2 separate regions of the Homo sapiens genome follow, and region 2 is linked to region 1. Evidence: promoter capture Hi-C in human tissues and cell types (Jung and others, 2019). All regions are on one chromosome and are shown on one strand. The core of a region is centred on a gene start or on the middle of the fragment in contact, and the rest is flanking DNA. Distances in the headings are between cores, read along the strand shown. Region 1 holds the start of ZNF33A (zinc finger protein 33A). Region 2 overlaps ZNF33A (zinc finger protein 33A).

Evidence for each region. Contacts are between HindIII fragments. The study calls those that stand out against the background at their distance.
Region 2: a contact is called between a fragment that was not itself captured here and the fragment with the promoter of ZNF33A in region 1, in 3 of the 25 tissues and cell types used here (dorsolateral prefrontal cortex, mesendoderm cells and thymus).

Annotation. Positions count from the first base shown.
Region 1 is chr10:38,007,531-38,013,305 of GRCh38, forward strand. ZNF33A (zinc finger protein 33A) reads left to right here and starts at 3,145. Exons shown (of 5, transcript NM_006954.2): 1 at 3,145-3,253; 2 at 4,768-4,820. The coding sequence starts at 4,812. RefSeq lists an enhancer at 3,668-3,847. The HindIII fragment of the contact is 9,281 bases long and covers 1-5,775 here.
Region 2 is chr10:38,055,820-38,061,594 of GRCh38, forward strand. It overlaps ZNF33A (zinc finger protein 33A), which reads left to right. Exons shown (of 5, transcript NM_006954.2): 5 at 1-4,268. The coding sequence ends at 741. Among named protein-coding and RNA genes, the nearest start is that of ZNF37A, 36 kb to the right of the region's middle. The HindIII fragment of the contact is 5,674 bases long and covers 1-5,030 here.

The DNA of each region.
Region 1 (5,775 bases), core at 1,895-4,394:
TCCACTGAGGGTCTGGATAGAACACAAGGCAGAGGAAGGAGGAATTCACCCATATTTTCTGCCTCATTGTTGAGTTGGGACATTTCATCTCATCCTCTCCTGTCCTTAGACTGGGATTTACACCATTGGCTTCCCTGGTTCTCAGGCCTCTGGACTCATACCAGAATTACACCACCAGCATTCCTGGATCTCTAGCTTGCAAATGACAGACTGTGGGACTTCTTAGCCTCCATAATCATGTGAACCAATTTCTCACCACCAATGTCTCTTTCTGCCTTACTCCCTCCTATTGGTTCTGTTTCTCTTGAGAATCATGACTAATACACTGGGAATAAACATTTCCCCAAGCCCATACCATAGGTGTATATTAGTGTTTTTTTCAATCTTTTCAAATCTTAAATTTAAAAATATTTTATTTATTTATAATTTCCCCCAGTTGGAAACAACTAGCATATCCCTGGACTGGGGAATGGATAAGGAAACTGGTAAATCCGTACCAAGAAATAGGAGTCAGCAATGTCAGAGATGATAAATTCTTCTTCAAAAAGCTTAAGTTCCCTGTTCTTTGTTGCTTAAGACCAACTTCCTTGTACTTCCTTGTCTCCTAGCTACCTGTTCTGTAAACAACCTTCCTGCCTTTGCTGTGCACAGACAAGTCCAGATATGACTTCCCACCTTTGCCGTGCCCAGACAAGTCCAGATATGCCTTCCCACCTAGTAATGGACAGTCCTCCTTCCTTCCCGCCTAATAGACCCTATTCAATTTTAAACCTTAGCCAATAGAGTTAGCTTAGACTGTGAGGTCCAACCCCAGCCAATGGGGAAGGGACACAGAAGTGCTAGGAACTGTATCAGGGATAAAATCCCCTGCCCTACCCCTCTCAGTGTACTCTTGTGATCGTGACTGGCACAAGCTGCACCCTTCTGCAGAAGTAAATTTGCCTTGCTGAGGAATTTTCTGCCTACGCGCTGGTTTTCTCTGTGGCACCGGGCACTTGTTTCTAACAGCAGGAAAAGCAAACAGAGGTATTGGTACACAAAACAACACAGAAGGATCTCAATTGCATTGTGTTAAGAGATACCAGATTCAACAACTACATACTGTGTGATTCCATTTATATAATATCCTAAAAAAGGCAAACATATAGGCCCAAAGAATAGATAGCGGTTGCAAGAGGCTAAGAGTGGTGAGAGAATCTGACTTTAAAAAGGTAGCATGGAGGAATTTTATTGACAGAGATGAAACAATTTTGTGTCTTGCTTGTAGTGGTGGTTACACAAATCTATGCATTGTCAAAACTCATAAAATTATGCATCAAATAAAGAACTTTTCAGTATATAAAGCATAAATTAAAAAATGTAAATTTCAATAAATGTTTCACGTATTTTTACTCAAATATTTGCATTTCTTTCTTTTTTTTTTTTTTTGAGACGCAGTGTCGCTCTGTCACCAGGTTGGAGTGCAGTAGCGCAATCTTGGCTCACTGCAACCTCCCCATCCTGGGTTCAAACGATTCTCCTGCCTCAGCCTCCTGAGTAGCTGAGACTACAGGTGTGCACCACAACGCCCCACCTAATTTTTGTATTTTTAGTACAGAAGGGGTTTCACCATGTTGGGCAGGATAGTCTCGATCTCTTGACCTCATGATCTACCCGCCTCAGCCTCCCAAAATGCTGGGATTACAGGCGTGAGCCACCACGCCTGGCCATATTTGCATTACTTTCAATTCTCATAATGGACTTAAAAAGTTTTGCTGGAATGGAGTTGCTTATTTTTCTCTATTATAAAATGTGACTGATATTAAATTTATAGTTTCTGTCTTTGGCATCACATCCCTTGTTGTTTTTTTTGAGACAAGGTCTCACTTTGTCACCCATGCTGGAGTGCAGTGGTGCCATGATGGCTTACTGCAGCCCGGGGCTCAAGTGATCCTCCAACCTCAGCCTCCTGAGTAGCTGGGATCACAGGTGCCTGCCTACATGCCAGGCTAATTGTTATTTTTAGTTTTTTGTAGAGATGGGGGTCCCACTATAGTGCCCAGGCTGGTCTTGAACTCCAAGGATCAAGTGGTCCTCCTGCCTCCGCCTCCCAAAGTGCTGGGGTTACAGGTGTGGGCCACTGTGCCTGGTCCACTTGTCAATTTTCAAAAATTTTTACTCTTTTAGTGGTTTAAATGTTTAAGTATTGTATACATGTGAGATTTTATCATGTGTGATCTATGTATATCTCTACATTCCAAATTGCTCGGAATGACATGCTCTTTGGAATACTCCATTCTTTCCCTCACTGTTTTGAAATGCTGTATCTACTACACATTAAAGAATACTCTTAAGCTGTCTTATTTCCATGGAGCAGGTGCCAAACTACTTTGAATAGAGCAATATTATATAGATAGATGTAGATAGATACAGATATTCCTTAGGCATTTTTTTCCTGCTTTTTAAAATGTATACTGGCTGTTCATTTGGGTTTTTACTTATTCTAGATAAAGTTGAGAATGCTTTTGTGAAGTACAGAATACACTAAAGATCAAAGAGAAAAAATACATAACAAAAATTTGTTGATATTCTTTTAGGAATTTTGTCTTCCTAAGAAAGGTACAGATAGACTAAAAGTATTTCCATTTAGTCAAGCAATTTTAATGTCACAGAGGAAATCATACGTGACATTTATTTTCTTCTTTCAGATTATGTCTAGTTCCTTACTGAGCTACAATTTCCGTTTATTGCTTTAACCATTTTGATGAAGTAGCTTTCCGGCCGCACCTTCCCCTTTTTTCCCCCGCTCCCAAAGAACCGCTGATAGCATGAAAGTCTTTTAAACTGTATGGACGAGATCTATTTCCTAACATTTAAACGGAAAATGACACGCAGCGGTCCTTTCCTTGAGCGTCTGCGTCTAAACTGCCCACAGACCTCCCCCGCAGTATATCCCTTTGGAGTGCCCCGGGGAAAGCCAGGGCTGCAGGCAGTTCCAGCACCAACTCAGACCGCATCTGCCCACTGCCTAGCGGGGCACTTCTCTACCAATCCGAAGGGCTGCTCGCCCGGCCTCACGGGAAAGGTAGTTTCCAGGTAGGGCGCCAACAGCATCAAGCTGTGCGCGTGGGCTCTGCGCATGCCTCGTCCGCCGGCTACGTCTGCGTTTCCGCCTTTCCTTTTGTTTTTCTCAGGTTTTGCGTGGGAGGCGGTCCCGGGATTTCAAGGGTCTACGCGCTTTTCTATGGCGAATGCAACCCGACGAGGGAGTGGGGTAAGCCCCAGTGGGTTGGGCAGGGAGAGAGAGGGAGCCCCGCGCGACTCCTGGGGCGGGCGGCAGGGGGCCGGTACCAAGTGGTGGGGAGGAGGCCCGGGGACCTCATAGGGGAAGGCGGGGACGGCGGGGCTGCAGCGTGTGGGCCACGACGCTAGGCCGGTTCCTCAAAGGCGCGGCCTCTGTACGGAGCAGGGTACGCAGCGTGTGTCGCCCCATTTGTGGGGGCCGCGGAGGAGGGCATGTGCGCTTGCGCAGTCCGCGCGCTGAGCCTTGCGGGAGGGGCAGTTCTCTTGTCTAGCCTGTGCGCGTGTGCTAGGGCGCCGCGGTACGTGGGCGGGGAAAGGCGGGTGCAGTCGCCCGCCAGACCGGCAGACTCGGTTGCACGTATTGCATTCATCCTCTTTAGGTTCCGAACTGACCTCCAGTCAGGTCCATCACTGCATCTTGGTATTTGCTGTTCCTCTGTCCTGACTTGATCTTGCACTCAGGAAAGATCTTCAAGAATTACCTAATTTTGGCCTGGCGCGGTGGCTCTCGCCTGTAATCCCAGCACTTTGGGAGGCCGAGGCGGGTGGATCACCTGAGGTCAGAAATTCGAGACCAGCCTGACCAACATGGTGAAACCCCGTCTCTACTAAAAATACGAAAAGTAGCCGGGCGTGGTGGCGCATGCCTGTAATCCCAGCTACTGAGGCGGAAAATTGCTTGAACCCGGGAGGCGGAGGTTACAGGTAGCCAAGATCGCACTATTGCACTCCAGACTGGGCAACAAGAGCGAAACTCCGTCTCAAAAAAAAACAAAAACAAAGAATTACCTAATTTTGCCTCATTTGTTAGAAGAAAAAGATTTTTTTTGTTTTTTTGTTTGTTAAGGTCACTGACTTGTTCAGGATCACAGTTAGTAGGGAAGACTAAGTCACATCTCCTGACCCCTAAGCCAGTACTGTCTACTTTTCCACACACATCAAAGCAAGTTTAAAATATCCCTTTGAGAAATAGCAACAAAGTTAGATGAAGAAATTAAAACTGATTTTTTCTTTGAAGCACTGCCGCTTATGGCTTTCTGTGGAGTCACTCACCAGAGGTTAAGTAACATTACTGGGAAAATAGATAGCTTAGTCCTATTTTTTACAATGGTTTTAGTGTTAATGTTCCTTCATTAAATATATTGTTAACTTGTTTGGCCAATATTGTCATTATACTTTTTTTTGTGAACACCGAGGGAGATTGAAATCCTTAGGAAGCAAATATTTACTTTCACCCGGTAAAAAATCTTGTGCCCAAGAGCTACATAATTATGTTGGAGTTATTCTTTCACCATTTCTACCGCCTATTCCGAAGTGTTCTTCCACCATTTCTACCCCCTATTCCAAAGTGTCAGAGGACATTGATACTCTCCCAGAGGAAGCATTTTACCTAGTGGGTGTGTATGGCTTCTTAGGGCGGAAGAATCCAGGAGTTGCCAGGCAGGCCAAATCTTTCATGACCCCATTCCTCTTTTTCTAACTCAGCTGTATCTTCAGAGTTGTCTCCGTCTTTCCAAGAACAGAACAAAATGAACAAGGTAAGTTGTTTATTAATTCCCTACTTTATTTTGCAGTGGACTTTGTGAGATTTGTAAGAGTCGATATGGTGTTTGTTTTTTTTTTTTTTTTTTTTTTGTGAGACGGAGTCTCACTCTGTCACCCAGGCTGGAGTACAATGTCCCCATCTCGGTTCACTGCAACCTCTGCCTCCCGGGTTCAAGCAATTCTCCTGCCTCAGCCCCCCGAGTAGCTGGGACTGCAGGCGCATGCTGCCACGCCTGGCTAATTTTTTGCGTTTTAATAGAGACAGGGTTTCACCGTGTTGCCTAGGCTGGTCGCAAACTCCTGAGCTCAGTCAATCCGCCCGCCTTGGTCTCCCAAAGTGCTGGGATTACAAGCGTGAGGCACCGTGTCTGGCCAAGAGTCAATATGTTAAGATGAGAAGTTAGTAATAGATAAAAATTGAACTTCCCAGAAAATATAAAGTAACAGATCAATAGCAGGGCCAAGTTAGAGTCAATAAGTTGAGCTTCGTATGTTTCTTACGTTTCCAACAACCATGGCAGAAAGGAAGACACTGGATACAGACAGACTGACTCCTCTGAAGGCACAAAGACTTCCTGGCAGATACCTTTTTTGGTCATAACATAGGGACCCATAGTGAATAAGCTTCCAGTGATAACCCTGAAATGAGTGCAGCCTATTGAGTCAAACTGCTTTTTTAATTTTTATTTCACACAGGTTCCAGTTTTCTTTTGGATGTAGTGTTTGATCAGTAAATTAAAATGTATTTTAATTTTAATTTTTTTATTTTTTTGAGACGGAATCTTGCTCTCTTGCCATTCTGGAGTACAGTGGCGCGATCTTGGCTCACTGAAACTTCTGCCTCCCGGGTTCAAGCGATTCTCTTGCCTCAGCCTCCCGAGTAGCTGGGACTACAGGCATGCGCCACCACACCTGGCTAATTTTTGTATTTTTAGTAGAGACGGGGTT
Region 2 (5,775 bases), core at 944-3,443, 47 kb after region 1:
TCAACCCTCTCTCAACATTATAGAACACACACAGGGGAGAAACCCTACGAATGTCATGAATGTGGAAAAATCTTTTACAATAAATCATACCTAACTAAACATAATAGAACACATACAGGGGAGAAACCCTATGAATGTAATGAATGTGGAAAAGCCTTCTACCAGAAGTCACAACTCACTCAGCATCAGAGAATTCACATAGGGGAGAAACCCTATAAATGTAATGAGTGTGGAAAAGCTTTCTGCCATAAGTCAGCTCTAATTGTACATCAGAGAACCCATACACAAGAAAAGCCCTATAAATGTAATGAATGTGGAAAATCTTTCTGTGTAAAATCAGGACTTATTTTCCATGAGAGAAAGCACACGGGGGAGAAACCCTATGAATGCAATGAATGTGGGAAATTCTTCAGGCACAAATCATCACTCACAGTACATCACAGGGCTCACACAGGAGAGAAATCTTGTCAATGTAATGAATGTGGAAAAATCTTTTACCGTAAATCGGAACTTGCTCAACATCAGAGATCACATACAGGGGAAAAGCCCTATGAATGTAACACATGCAGGAAAACTTTCTCTCAAAAGTCAAATCTCATTGTACATCAGAGAAGACATATAGGAGAAAACCTTATGAATGAAATGGATATTAGAAATTTCCAGCCACAAGTCAGCCTCCATAATGCCTCAGAGTATTCACACTGTGGAGAAAGCCCTGATGACATCCTGAATGTTCAGTAACTATCCACAAACTCACCTTATGTTACTCCAAAGTAATAGTAGGGGATAAACCCATAGACTACAACAATTATAGGACAGCTTTTGTTAGGAAGTGATATTCTATGTAATATCAGATGGTTAATACGGGCATAACACCTTACAGATTTTTTTTGAATTTGTGAAAGTTTTTGGCAAAAATGCAAATAAGGTTATGTTAGAATTTACACTGAGGAGAAAATTGTCAATTTAAGAAATCTAAAGTGAAAATTTTGCTTAGAAATAAAATACGACAAGTTATGTTTTGAGTTTGATGCCATAATAGTTTTTAGGGCACCTAACAATAATTTATAGATGTATATTGTGGAATGTAAAGCTTTAAGAACTTAAACAAAGGTAATAATTAAAATAACCTCACAAGAAGTTTAATGAGTAGAGAGAATTCCCATGTACACTTCACCAAACTTCCTCTAAGGATAATGTATAATCATAGTATATGGTCAAGTCCAAGAAATCGATGTTACCTTGCTGGTAGATAGAGACTTAGTCAGATTTTACTATGGTTTGCATGCACTCTGTGTGTGTGTGTACGTGTATGTGTGTGTGTGTGGTTATATCAAACTTTTACGACTTTTACATTTGAGTAACCATCAACACGATTAGTTTACAGAACTGAAAAGGAATCTGAGATCTGTACTGTATCAGGATTACAAAGGATTTAGCCTCAAGTAGTTCCCTTTTTGTATTAATAACCACACGCTTTCTGCAACCCTATCCCTTGCATCCACTTGACTATGAAGTTTTTTTAAAGCACAGATAAATTGAATAATCAGGGCAATAGCATTAAGCACATCTGCGAATTATCCCTGAAGTTCAAAAGACTTATATATGTATAAGTGGTATGTGATATAAATCGTGTGTTTCATATGCATAATGGAATTTAACGTAATTGTGAATAGGAAGTAGGTATCCTAGTTTAGTAGTGGTTACATTATCAGGCCCATCCCAGATGTTTGTGATGTCCTGAAACAATTTAAAAGGAGACCCACAGAGCTAATGTTTATCCATTTAAAAGGTATAAATCAAAATAACAAATTATCTAAAAAAAATCTATCCTGTACATGTGAAGATCTAGGCTCGCCTCCATGTTACTCCCTTTCTCTTCCTACCTGTGGCTCATGCCATGCCATGAAGTGCCTAGGGTACATATGTGAACATTCCAGCCTTCAGCATAAGTGGTAGTCCAAATTTTCTTTAAGCAGCTGCTCTCCAAGACAGGGCCCTGGAAAGGCCCACACATACAGCCCAGGGCTGCCCAGGGCTGTTGGACTGTCATTTCAAGGCTCATTGTCCCCAGACAGGGATCTGGGCCCTCAGACTTTTGAGAATATGAAGAGGAGGGTTGAGGCTGGAGCAGAACCAGAATCAAGCTGGTGTGGGGCTTTTATTGATAGTGTGAAGATTGTACACTATATTACATGATCAGATCATACAAATAATCTAAGATTATACAGTCTAGTGATCCTAGATTACACAAGTAATCTAAGCTTCCACTTTAGGAAACTAGAAAAAGAAGAGCAAATTAAATCCAAAGTAACCTGAAAAAACATTAGAGTAAAAATCATTGAAATTGAAAAGAGAAAATCGATAAAACCCAAAACTGGTTCCTTGAAAAGGTCAGTAAAATTGATAAACCTCTAGCTAGCTTAAGAACAAACAGAAGACAAATATTGCTAATACCAAAAATGAAAGAGGCCATCACAGCTAATCCTATGGTCACCAAAAGGATTAGAAAGAAACATGGACAACTCTGTCCATAAATTTGATAACTTAGCTAAAATGGACCAATTCCTTGCAAGACGCATTCTCTCAAAGCTCACACAAGATAGACCTCAATAGGCATATGTATCTATTAAATAAACCAAAGCAGTAATTAATAACCTTCCAAGGCCAGGTACAGTGGTTCATGCCTGTAATCCCAGCACTTCACTTTGGGAGGCTGAGGCGGGTGGATCACAAGGTCAGGAGTTCGAGACCAGCCTGGTCAACATGGTGAAACCCCCTATCTACTAAAAATACAAAAAATTAGCTGGGCATGGTGGCATGCGTGTGTAGTCGAAGCTACTCAGGAGGCTGAGGCAGAAGAATCACTTGAACCTGGGAGGTGGATGTTGCAGTGAGCTGAGATTGTGCCACTGTACTGCAGCCTGGGTGACAGAATGAGACTGCATCTCAAAAAATAATAATGAAACTTTCCAAAACAAAGTGCCAGGACCAGCTGGGTTCACTGATGTGTTTTTGAGATACTTAAGGTAGAAATGATACCAAGTCTCTACCATCTCTTTCAGAAAATAAAAGCAGAGATAACACTTCCCAACTCATTTTGTGAGGCCAGTATTACCCTAATAGCAAAACCAGGCAAAGATATTACAAGAAAGGAAAACTACAGATCAATATTTCCATTGAACACAGATGCAGAAATCCTCAAAATATTAGCAAATCAGGAATGCAAGGCTTGTTCAACATTTGATATTCAGTGTAATCCATTGCATGCATTAGCAGCTCAAAGATGAAATACGATCATATCAATAGGTACAGAAAAAGCATTTGACAAAATCCAATATCCATTCATGTTAAAACCTCTCAACACAGAAGGAATACAGGAGAACTTACTCAAGTTGGTAAAGAACATACTACAAAAAACCCTACAGCTAACATTATCCTTGATGTTTCCAACTAGACACTTTCCTACTAAGATCAGGAACATGGCAAGGAACACCACACCACTGCTTTTCAGCATTGTACTGGAAGTGCTATATAATGCAGTGTTAAAAAAAAAAGAAATAAAATGCACATAGATTTGAAAGGATGAAATACAACTTTGTTCACAAGTAACATGATTGTCTTTGTAGAGAATTCTAAATAACAAAAACCCTGCTGACATTAATAAGCAATTACAGCAGGATTGCAGGATACAGTCCTCAGGTAGATGATAAAAAGGAATTGGACATCAAGTCATTAAAAGACACGGAGAAACCCTAAATGCTTATTGTTAAGTGAAAACCAATCTGAAAAGGCTTTCTATTTTGTATGATTGCAATTATATGACATTTTGGGAGAGGCAAAACTATTGAGCCAGTGAAAGGACCAGTGGTTGCTGAGAGTTGAGGGGAAAGGAGGGATGGCAGGTAGAGAGGTGATTTTTAAGGCAGTGAAAGTACTCTCTAGGGTACTGTAATTTGTCAAAACGCAGAGAATGGAAAACAGTGAACGGAAAACACAGAGTAAACCCTAATGTCAACTCTGGACTTCAGTTAATAATAATGTATCACTGTTGGCTCATTAATTGTAACAAATGAACCATAATGATGCAAGATGTTAATGATTGGGGAGCCTGTGGAAGATGGGAGGGGAAAGGGTTATATGAGAATTCTCTATACTTTTTGCTCAACTTTCTGTAACCCTAAAGCTACTCTAAAAAATGAAGTGTATCAAGTAAATAAATAACCAACCAACCAACCCTGAGGAACATCTTGTTTCTGTACTAAGGTGTTCTTTTGTTAGTTGTATGTTTCTGACTGAACATGTAAATCATCATTAGTGAACAATTGAATTGCTTTTGTACATCCTTAATATATTTTAAATTATGGTAACTGTGACCTGAAATTAAGGACTAGTATTTTTGGTTCTCTTGACATCTGAAGCCAATAGGGCCTCAAATGACCTAACCTCATTTCCATCCCCACTCTGCTTCCACAGGTGAGGTAACTTAGCAGACAGTCCTCCTTGTCAGGGGGGCCAGGCACAATTCCTGCTTATTCCTAAGTAGTAAGATTTGCTTCCCTGCCAGCTCTTGGAATTATCACCAAACCCCTCACATCCTCCCACAGCAAACAGTGGTCACTGTACTCTGGATAATACAGCTGCTCGCCACAACCCCTCCTTTTCCACTCTGCTCCCTAGTCGAACCCTGTGTGGCTCTTCCCAGCATGTGGTGTCCTTCTCACCTTTCTGAGAGTTGGTGTGACTGACAAACTCACCTAGATCTTATCTGTCCAGTGTCAGGCGTTCAGTGTTCAACCTTTCTATAGCATTGGGGTGGGGATCCTTCCTTCACCATCAGGGTGAAAAGGAAGCAGTTACAACCATTGGCATAAACAGGATGGCCCATCCGAAGCCAGGGTCATCCAGTCCAATTTTAACTAACTGCTCTTAGCTAACTGACAGGTTCCATATTATGGCAAAGGCTTCTTGGACAGAACCACCAGTTGCTGGCAGGTTTGCACTTGGCCTGTGCTGTAATGCACTTTTCTTGGGGGAGGTGAGTGTCGCATCTCTTCCCATTCTAAAATGCTGTTGTGCACAGGACAAGAGTGCTCACCCATTGGCTGTATCCCTTCATGACTTGACTTGGGCTCAGCCTGTTTGGCAGGTGGTCTCTGAGGCTCCCACCTGTACAGGTAGTGACCACACTGTACAGCACTTGACAGTCACTGTACAGTGACGAACTGATCAGCATTTGAGCCCCACTTTCCAAAGGTCTGGCTGGAGCTCTCTGATTATCATCACTGGCTGCATGGAACATCCCTACAGACTATTGTTTGTTACTGCACACCCCTGGCTTGGGCATGCAGATGGCCTATTGTGAGGTTTGTGGAAAGGCAGGAGACAACTGAGGGAGGTGAGTGTGGCACTCCAGTTGCCTAACAAGGCATTCAGGAAGGGTAGTACCTGCATCCCTTTCCTGTGCTGCTCCTTCACTTGCTGCCACCACACATGCTTTCCTGACCCCTAAGAGTGTCAAGATGCACATGCATGGTGGCCCATGGTCCAGGTGCTGATGAGAAGAGAAAAGGATACCAGTTCTCCCCAGATTACCAGAGGAAGTAATCTCTGTAACTCTCCTGCCCTCCCAATGCAAAACCCCTTGCCAGTGTGCCTGAGCGTGGCCTGGCATTGCTGCTTGCCAACATGCCACAGGGTCAACCTTGCAATCATGGGGCCTGATGGCCTACACCTGGGCCACAGACTACATGACCTTACCTTGAACATAGGGAG